Regions from separate parts of the Homo sapiens genome. Here all the other regions are linked to region 3. Evidence: promoter capture Hi-C in 16 types of primary human blood cells and fetal thymus (Javierre and others, 2016). All regions are on one chromosome and are shown on one strand. Each heading gives the region's core, a stretch centred on a gene start or on the middle of the fragment in contact. The rest is flanking DNA. Distances are from core to core; before and after follow the strand shown. Region 1 overlaps EGLN1 (egl-9 family hypoxia inducible factor 1). Region 2 overlaps EGLN1 (egl-9 family hypoxia inducible factor 1). Region 3 holds the start of DISC1 (DISC1 scaffold protein).

Evidence for each region. The method cuts DNA at HindIII sites, captures the fragments that hold promoters and counts their contacts. A CHiCAGO score of 5 or more calls a contact.
Region 1: a contact is called between a fragment that was not itself captured here and the fragment with the promoter of DISC1 in region 3, in 1 of 17 cell types (neutrophils). The highest score is 5.5, in neutrophils.
Region 2: a contact is called between a fragment that was not itself captured here and the fragment with the promoter of DISC1 in region 3, in 6 of 17 cell types (activated CD4 T cells, non-activated CD4 T cells, monocytes and 3 more). The highest score is 7.4, in activated CD4 T cells.

Annotation. Positions count from the first base shown.
Region 1 is chr1:231,403,353-231,406,193 of GRCh38, reverse strand. All of the region lies in intron 1 of EGLN1 (egl-9 family hypoxia inducible factor 1), which reads left to right. Among named protein-coding and RNA genes, the nearest start is that of EGLN1, 18 kb to the left of the region's middle. The HindIII fragment of the contact is 1,772 bases long and covers 414-2,185 here.
Region 2 is chr1:231,380,212-231,382,911 of GRCh38, reverse strand. All of the region lies in intron 1 of EGLN1 (egl-9 family hypoxia inducible factor 1), which reads left to right. Among named protein-coding and RNA genes, the nearest start is that of EGLN1, 41 kb to the left of the region's middle. The HindIII fragment of the contact is 1,771 bases long and covers 509-2,279 here.
Region 3 is chr1:231,625,475-231,628,319 of GRCh38, reverse strand. It overlaps DISC1 (DISC1 scaffold protein), which reads right to left and starts at 1,530. Exons shown (of 13, transcript NM_018662.3): 1 at 1,386-1,530. The coding sequence starts at 1,452. All of the region lies in intron 5 of TSNAX-DISC1 (TSNAX-DISC1 readthrough (NMD candidate)), which reads right to left. RefSeq lists silencers at 1-11, 985-1,044, 1,375-1,634. The HindIII fragment of the contact is 7,020 bases long and covers 1-2,845 here.

The sequences.
Region 1 (2,841 bases), core at 50-2,549, 220 kb after region 3:
GTATTAACCTGAAATTTTTTTTTTTTTTGAGACGGAGTCTCTCTGGCTCTGTCGCCCAGGCTGGACTGCAGTGGTGCAATCTTGGCTCACTGCAAGTTCCGCCTCCCGGGTTCATGCCATTCTCCTGCCTCAGCCTACCTGAATTAAAAAAAAAAAAAAAAAAAGCCTTAGTAATAGTAGTGCTCCGCGGCTGGGGAATTGGGTGGGGGTGGGGGGTGGGGGGTGCTTACTAACTAAAATGAAACTAGAATTCATACTAGTTTTTTTATATTAAAATAGTTTCTATAATGGTTAGATCTGAAACATCTCTGGATAGTTTTGGTAGAAAGTATCTGCAGAATATGGAAGAATAATTTGTTCGTATTGACAATTTTCAGGAACTATGCTTTGATGTTGCATAGTAGCTGTAAGCTTTTTCTTTAATGTGTGCCTACTCTAGAGATTCTTGGTGTTTCTTCCTCTTAGAATTGTCTGGGGAAAGGGAGAACAGTAGTGTGGGGTGGGGAAGATGTTTGTGGACAGAAGCCAGGAATGGGAATAGGACCTGCTAGTATTGCCTTGGATTCTTGTCATCTGGCTCTCTACTACTGAGCAAGGCACTCAACAACTCTGCCAGTCTCTCCATCTATGAAATGGGAGTAATGCTGACCTAATTAACAGAAGAGTTGTTGAGTAGATGATTATTTGTAAAAGACTTTTTAAAAAAGTAGTTATATTGGCTGGGCATGGTGGCTCACACCTGTAATCCCAGCGCTTTGGGAGGCTGAGGTGGGCGGATCACGAGGTCAGGAGATCGAGACCATCCTGGCTAACATGGTAAAACCCTGTCTCTACTAAAAATACAAAAAAAGCCGGGCATGGTGGCGGGCACCTGTAGCCTGTAGTCCCAGCTACTCAGGAGACTGAGGCAGGAGAATGGCGTGAACCCGGGAGGCGGAGCTTGCAGTGAGGCCAGATAGCGCCACCGCACTCCAGCCTGGGCGACAGAACAAGACTCCGTCTCAAAAAAATAATAAATATAAATAAAATAAAAAGTAGTTTTATTTCTCAGCAGTGCCTTTTCAGATTAGGACTTGGTCTTAGTTGCCCTTAACTCTGTTCTTGGTGTTGGTTAACATTGTCATCAGAAGTTCAGATTCAATTTTAGATTCAGAATTCTTGACTTGGTTTTACTGGGATGTCAGAACCTTATTTTTAATTAAAGCGAATCTATTGTTGCTTAGGCAGTTGGCACATAGATTTGGCACTGTGAGAAAGGAAATAGTGTTCAGTTGATAAGGGCATCTTGAACTGAATTTCAGATAGTTGTGTTACTTAATGGGTAATGAAATAACTCCAGCTGAGGAACACCTTGATTAAAAAATCTTTCTCTCCTCATGCCTTCTCCGTTAGCAGATTGAAGTCAAGTGGCAATATTTTATTTATAATCATGAATTTAATTATTTAAGCTATATTAAAAAAATTGAAACCCTTAGATGTTAATTAATTTTAAAAACTAGTGATGGATGCAGGTAAGCTAGAATGATTGGATCAAATCTCACACACAAATGAGTTTATTCTTTAAAAAAAAATTTTTTTTTTAGAGACGGGGTCTTGCTATGTTGCCCAGGATGGTCTTGAACTCATGACCTCAAGCAATCCTCCTGCCTCACCCTCCTGAATAGCTGGGATTACAGGCATGAGCCACTGTGCCTGGCCTTATTTTACAGGTCTTACTGACGTAAGCCCATATTTGATTTGTTTTACAGTTTGTTGATATTGCTTAGTATTTCTTTTATTTACTGTATAGTCTATAACTTAATAGGTAGCAGTAAAAACAAAATAATAAAAGTTATTTATTTTCCTCCTAAAATAATGGGGGGTATTTATGGCTTATTTACCCTTAATAATGTCTTTTAAGTGGCCATTATAAAATATGTAGAATTACTTTGGTGTCTGTGCTGTCAAATTTGGCTCATGTAGTAATTGTGCTCGTAGTAAAAAGTGTATTTTAAGCAGCCTGTGTTGTCCTTAAGAAATTTCATGTAGGTTCCACACTTTTTTCTAAAATTAATTATTCTTAACATTTTTAACAGTCAAAACTTGAAACCATTAAGATGTGAACTGCTGTATGTATTATAATAGGGAGTAGCTTTTTTAGTGTTGACATTGTATAAAATTAGTTATTTACAAAGATAGTAAAGCTTATTGTTTGAAAATAAGGAATTGAGGAAATGAAGTTAAACAACATGTATTCATACCTATGTTTTTCTTATAGAAATATATAATATCTAGGTATGTAGAAATGTAAACACTTTGAATTATACAATACTTTGAATAATTTAATAACAATATAGCTTAAATACTTGTAGTGTTATCTTTTCAGTTTGGGAATTGCATATATATTTTAACTGTAAAAATCTTTTTTTTTTTTTTTTTTTTTTTTTGAGATGGAGTCTGGCTCTGTTGACCATGCTGGAGTGCAGTGGCTCACTGCAACCTCCACCTCTTCCCAGGTTCAAGCGATTCTCCTGCCTCAGCCTCCCAAGTAGCTGAGTGCCAAGTACAGGCACGCACCACTGGGCCTGGCTAATTTTTGTATTTTTAGTAGAGACAGGGTTTCGCCATGTTAGCCAGGCTGGTCTTGAACTCCCAACCTCAGGTGATCCACCTCCCTTGGCCTCTGAAAGTTCTGGGATAGCAAGCATGAGCCACTGCACCCAGCCTGTAAAAATCTTACATGTCATGGGAAAGAGGCTGCTGCTTTGTTTATGACTTTATATAGTTTCTGATTATAAAAATAATACAGTGCTCCAAAGTAGATGAAGCAAAATCTGATAGAAATGAAAGGCACAATCAACA
Region 2 (2,700 bases), core at 145-2,644, 250 kb after region 3:
TGATTTTTGTATTTTTAGTAAAGATGGGGTTTCACCATGTTGGCCAGGCTGGTCTCAAACTTCTGACCTCAGATGATCCACCTGCCTCGGCCTCCCAAGGTGCTGGGATTACCGGCTTGAGCCACCATGCCCGGCCTGCCAAGCACCTTTTATGGAAGGTTTATTTAAGGCAAAAATGCTAGTGTGCTTTTAGGATTCAGCTGAACCTAATTGGAATCAAATAACAGAATTCCTTTATGGGGAACTAACAGAACCAGCAGGAGTCATAAGGCTCAGGGTACAGTCCCTAATAGTAGGCCATTAGATTAACTAGATTCATGTATATGTTCATGTAAGAGCAGTGGTCCCTATACAGTGTGTAGCCATAACACCTTTCTTGAGTACCATTCTTCTCTAATACTGTCATAATTTCTAATATCCACTATGTTAATTACTAAATTCTCTGGCTTTGAGATGAGATAAGGCTTCTTGAGTTGTCTCACTGGAGTAGGGTTTTTGATTACAAGCTTTCCTCATTTACTGATGATTATTTATATCCAGTCTTGGGCTTGCATGTTAACTAAGTGCTCCAGGATGAATGTCAGGAACCTCTCACTCATGTCCTCTAGTCCATTAAAACAAATAATAATTACACTGTTTGTGCCAAAATAACTTAAGGAATTTAAATCGTAACTCTTCTAGACCCTGGAATTGAAACAGATGTTTTACTTTTAATCTCTGTATCCTCATGCCTAGTGCAGTACCTGCTCAGTGAGCCTCAAGAAGTGCCAGAATGTATGTTTGTAATGTCAAGCAGCTAAGTGTTTTGTTCTGTTTGTATTTTTGTTTTTAATGCCGAATTGCAGACTCTTCCAACGAATTATATTAATAATATAGCAAGTTTGCCATAGCTGTCAGAATATCTGTCTTAACAGTGATACTTCCTTGCATGGGCTAGAATGAGGTTGTATAATTCCCTGGGTGGGGATCAAGCTGAGACCTGCTCAGGATCCCCAGTCTCCTTGTGGAGAGAGGTTGCTCTGTCTTCCTCATGAAGTTTGCAGTGGGAGTGGTGTGTGTGATATAAATACAGAGCCCTGCTTGGGAATCTAAGAAAGAGTTGTGCAGTGCTGGTAAGATTATAGCTGAGGTTAACAAATTGTAGATCTCTGTTCTGACAGCAGAGCTAGACAGCTCAAAATATAATGTGTTTCACCAGATGAATTTCTTATTTGTAAAGCATAACTTTATCAATTCTTCACTAAAAGGGAAATGAAAGCTCAGAGAGTACTAAGGCATCATGACATATCTCTAGATTATACTGTCGGGAGCATCATACTTAAGTTGATTTTTAAGTGTATATTTAAGTTTTTTTAATCATGGGCTAGAATTAGAGCCTAATAAGGAAAGTAGTTTGGTGTTAGATTATTAAACAATTCATAATTCTTGGGCCACTTGGAGAGTGATTTGGATCAATGCTATTTCTTCTTCAATAATCTTTCATTGTTTTTCTGTATTTTTCATATTTCTATGAACATGGGAAGAATCTTGGATTTTTAAAAACTTTACATTGATAATTAATATAATTATATTCTGCCTTCCTGTACCGATAATAAAAACTTTGTATTAACATACTCTTCCACACAAGCAGAGTAAAAAGGTTGAAATTGTTGTTGTGTCATATGACAGCGGTTAACAACCAAAGAGCTCTTAAAAATCAGTAGGGGGCCAGGTGTGGTGGCTCACACCTGTAATCCCAGTACTTTGTGAGGCCAGAGTGGGAGGATCACTTGAGACCAGAAGTTCAAGACCAGCCTGAACAACGTAGTGAGAGCCCATCTCTAGAAAACATTAAAAAATTAGCCAGGTGTGGTAGCGTGTACCTGTACTCCCAGCTACTTGGGAGGATTGCTTGATCCCAGATGTTCAAAGTTGCAGTGAACCATGATCACGCCACTGCACTCCAGCCTGGGTGACAGAGTGAGACCCTGTCTCTAAAATAATAATAATAACTCAGTAGGGAAAAGATTAACCCAGTAGAAAAGTGGATAAAGGATATGAGCAAGCAGTTGAAGAATTAAATGGCCAATAAAATATGAAAAATGCTGACTTAAAAATATAAGATGTAATTAAAACATTAGTAAGATAAATGTTACCTATCAAATTGAGCTGTTTTCAAAGATTAAAACTTACTATGCTGGGTTGGCAAATGGTTAAAAAGATGTGTGCACTCATACAAAGCCAGTAGGAATATAAGCTCATGCAATAATTCTGGAGAACATTTCAGCAATCAGAAAGCTTTAAGACCTAATAATTTCACTTATAGTAATTTAATTTTAGGAAAATATCAAGGATTTACAAAGATTAAGCTCCAAAACTATTGTTGATCACAATATTATTATAATAGCATTTTTCTAATTTTTAAGGAAACTATATGCCCTTATATGTCTTTTTAAAATATATATATACCTATCATTTACACTTAGAAATGAATTAGTCAAAAAATTAGTCAGAAATCATTTATAATAAGTCAGCTTTTGACCACTGAGTTGTTTACTGTGATCAAGAAAGCAGCAAGGCTTAAGGAGTTCTTATTCTTTTTTTTTTTTTTTTTTTTGAGACGGAGTCTCGCTCTGTCGCCCAGGCTTGAGTGCAGTGGCGCGATCTCCGCTCACTGCAAGCTCCGCCTCCCGGGTTCACGCCATTCAAGGAGTTCTTATT
Region 3 (2,845 bases), core at 281-2,780:
CCCCATTTTTCTTTTATCTTTTTTGTAAACAGATGAGAAAACAGGCTCAAAGTCAAAGAGCCCGAAAAGCGGGTATCTTGTCCACGGTTCTTTTTGCTCTGTGGCACAGAACTGAACCTCAGAGGACTTCATGTACCATGCCGAGCACAGGAGAACTACATGTGTTTTTAAATGCCCTACTATTCCTGCATTAATCAAATCAAACTGGTATTCTCACATTACTCCCAATTATTTAGATTTTGCCTAGGAAAAATAGCAACTAAGGTTTTTTGAGAGTGCACTGGGTATTTCAGGCATTGGGCGAGGTGCTTCACTTCCACCATCACAGTTAAACCGCATAACAACCCTATGAAGCAGGTACTGTCATAGTCTCCTGCATGTCCAGGATTGACATGCAGGCAGACTGTCTCCAAACCCCAGTTCCTATGGTCCTAGTGCTGTCCAATTCAAATTTGTCCAGTTGATGATAACACTTTGCAAATTGATTTCCCATACAACAAACCTAACGACACATGGAGGCCAGGCTATGAGTGTTCTCCTTTACATTTCAGGAGACTGAGGCTCTGAGAGGTTAAGCGACTGACCCAGCCCTGTCCTCACCCAGCAAGAACACAAGGCAGCACTCCCTAACTCCAAATCTCACTGTCTTTGGAAAACCTCACATTTTAAGAGTGAGAAGGTAGAAGTCCTGTCATTGTTGAAAAACAACCATCCACAATCATCACTAAGAGTTGACAGCGAGACCCGCGCTCCAGGCGGTGGAAACCGAGCAGTCTCCGGCTTGGGCCATCCCCGTTACTGTAGCCAAGTAGGAAGTGGGCGGTGACACTGATTTCAGAGCAGCCCCTAGGGAAGGCACAGGCACCAGTTCCTGGTCCCGCTCCCAGCCTCCTCCCTCCAGGTCCCCGAAGGGGTGGAACCCGAGATCCAGCTGGGTCTTGGGGTTAAGGCGGGCGGGACGTCCCCTGTCCCGAGGGGGCGCAGGCTGGGGCGCACCGCAACGAGAGTGCAGGCGGCGCAGGTGTCCCAGGACGGGGACGGATCCAAACCCCAAGCACGCCTCTGCAACCTTTCCCGGTCACCTGGACACGCAGCGGGGGCGCGGGTCAGACTCCTACAGTTTCGCAAACTGCGGGTCCCGGGGATCGCTGCACAGTCCTGGGTCAGGGACCTGGCCCGGCTCGGCGCTGGTGCCGGGCTGGCAGCCCAAGACTCGCTCTTCTCTCAACCTCGCACGCCTCGCGTCCTGCCTCAGTTTCCCTCACCTCGAAAGGGGTTGTTAACAGAGGCACGCCCTGACCTACGCGACTTCCTGGGGGCCAGAGCGCGCCCTCCTTGCCAGGACCCCCCCAGGACGTGCTAGGACTCTGTGGCAGCTCCCCTACCTGCGCGGTGGCTCACGCCGCCGCCGCCGGCGGCGGCTGGGGCGCCCTGAGGACCCCCGCCTGGCATGCGCCCCGCTGCCAGCTCCTCCCGCTCCGCCTGGGCTGCCTCCTGCTCCTTCCCCGAGGCCAGAGGCGGGGGGAAGGGAGCAGCGCGCTGGACGGGAAGTGGGGAGGGGGCTGGCGACGAAGGGGGCGGCTCCTTTCTTCTCCTCAGCGAGTCCGCTGTTTCCTTTCCAGCATTGGCCCCTGACGCGCGCGCGCGCGCGCACACACACACACACAGACATACACACACACGCTGCTGGAGCGGGCGGGGCCAGCGGCCCTCACAGCCTGTCTCCGGGATCTCAGGACCTCAGAAAGTTTGCTTTCACTCTGACTCATTTCTGGAAGAAACAAGAGGGGAAGTGCAGGAAGCCTCCAGGATGGGGTACAGGAGGGCGCCTTCCAGACGCATGATTTAAGAAGTGACCACACAGTGATGGAGAAGATGGAGGGATGTGAGGGGCTCATTTATACAAAGTGGGGGCGGGGGGGAGGAGTGGGGATAACTGATGACCCTGGAAAGAGATGAGTGGGAGCAGATGTTTAGAAATGAGATAGGATTCCAACTTCTAGCATCTTCCAGCAGCTCCGGGCTGGTTCCAGGACACAGAAGTCCATGCAAGCTCCTAGGCAACTGACTCCCCCCTTCACCCCTTCTCTTTGGTTCATTCAAGGAAGCTACTGGAGCACCCCCTAGGTAGCACCTGCTATAGGACAATGGGTACAAGGAAGGGCTACACATGAGCTCTTTGCCCTTAAGCAGCTCACCTCCAGGCTAGAAGGAGAGCACGTGCATAGAAAACGAAATCACAACATGAGATAGAATGTGCCATGTGCCAGAGGCTTGGCACAAAACCTCTTGCAATGGTTCAGGGATAGGAGGGAGAACTGTGAAGAAGAAGGGTTGGGGAGACGTTCTGCAGGAATGGGAAGGATCTCCTTAGAACGAGAGGAGTTAGAACTAGAGGAAGGCTGAGGTCCTTCAAAAGCTGAAGATCTTAAGACTGAAAGCACACAGTTGTACTTAAAATCAGTGTGTTTGCCCGGCATGGTAGTGCACTCCTGTAGTCCCAGCTACTCGGCAGGCTTAGGTGGGAGGATTGCTTGAGTCCAGGAGTTCAAGGCTTCAGTGAGCTATGATGGGGCCACTGCACTCCAGCCCAGGTGACAGAGAGAGACCCCCCACACCCCCACCACATCTCTAAAAATAAATAAATGTATGAATATCTAAGGCCAGGCACTTTGGGAGGCCAAGGTGGAAGTTCACTTGAGTCCAGAAGTTTGAGATCAGCCTGGGCAACATAATAAGAACCTCTTTTTTTTTTTTAACTTTTAAGTTCAGTTTGTTACATAGGTAAACTTGTGTCATGGGTGTTTGTTGTACAGAGTATTTTGTCACCCAGGTATTAAGCCTA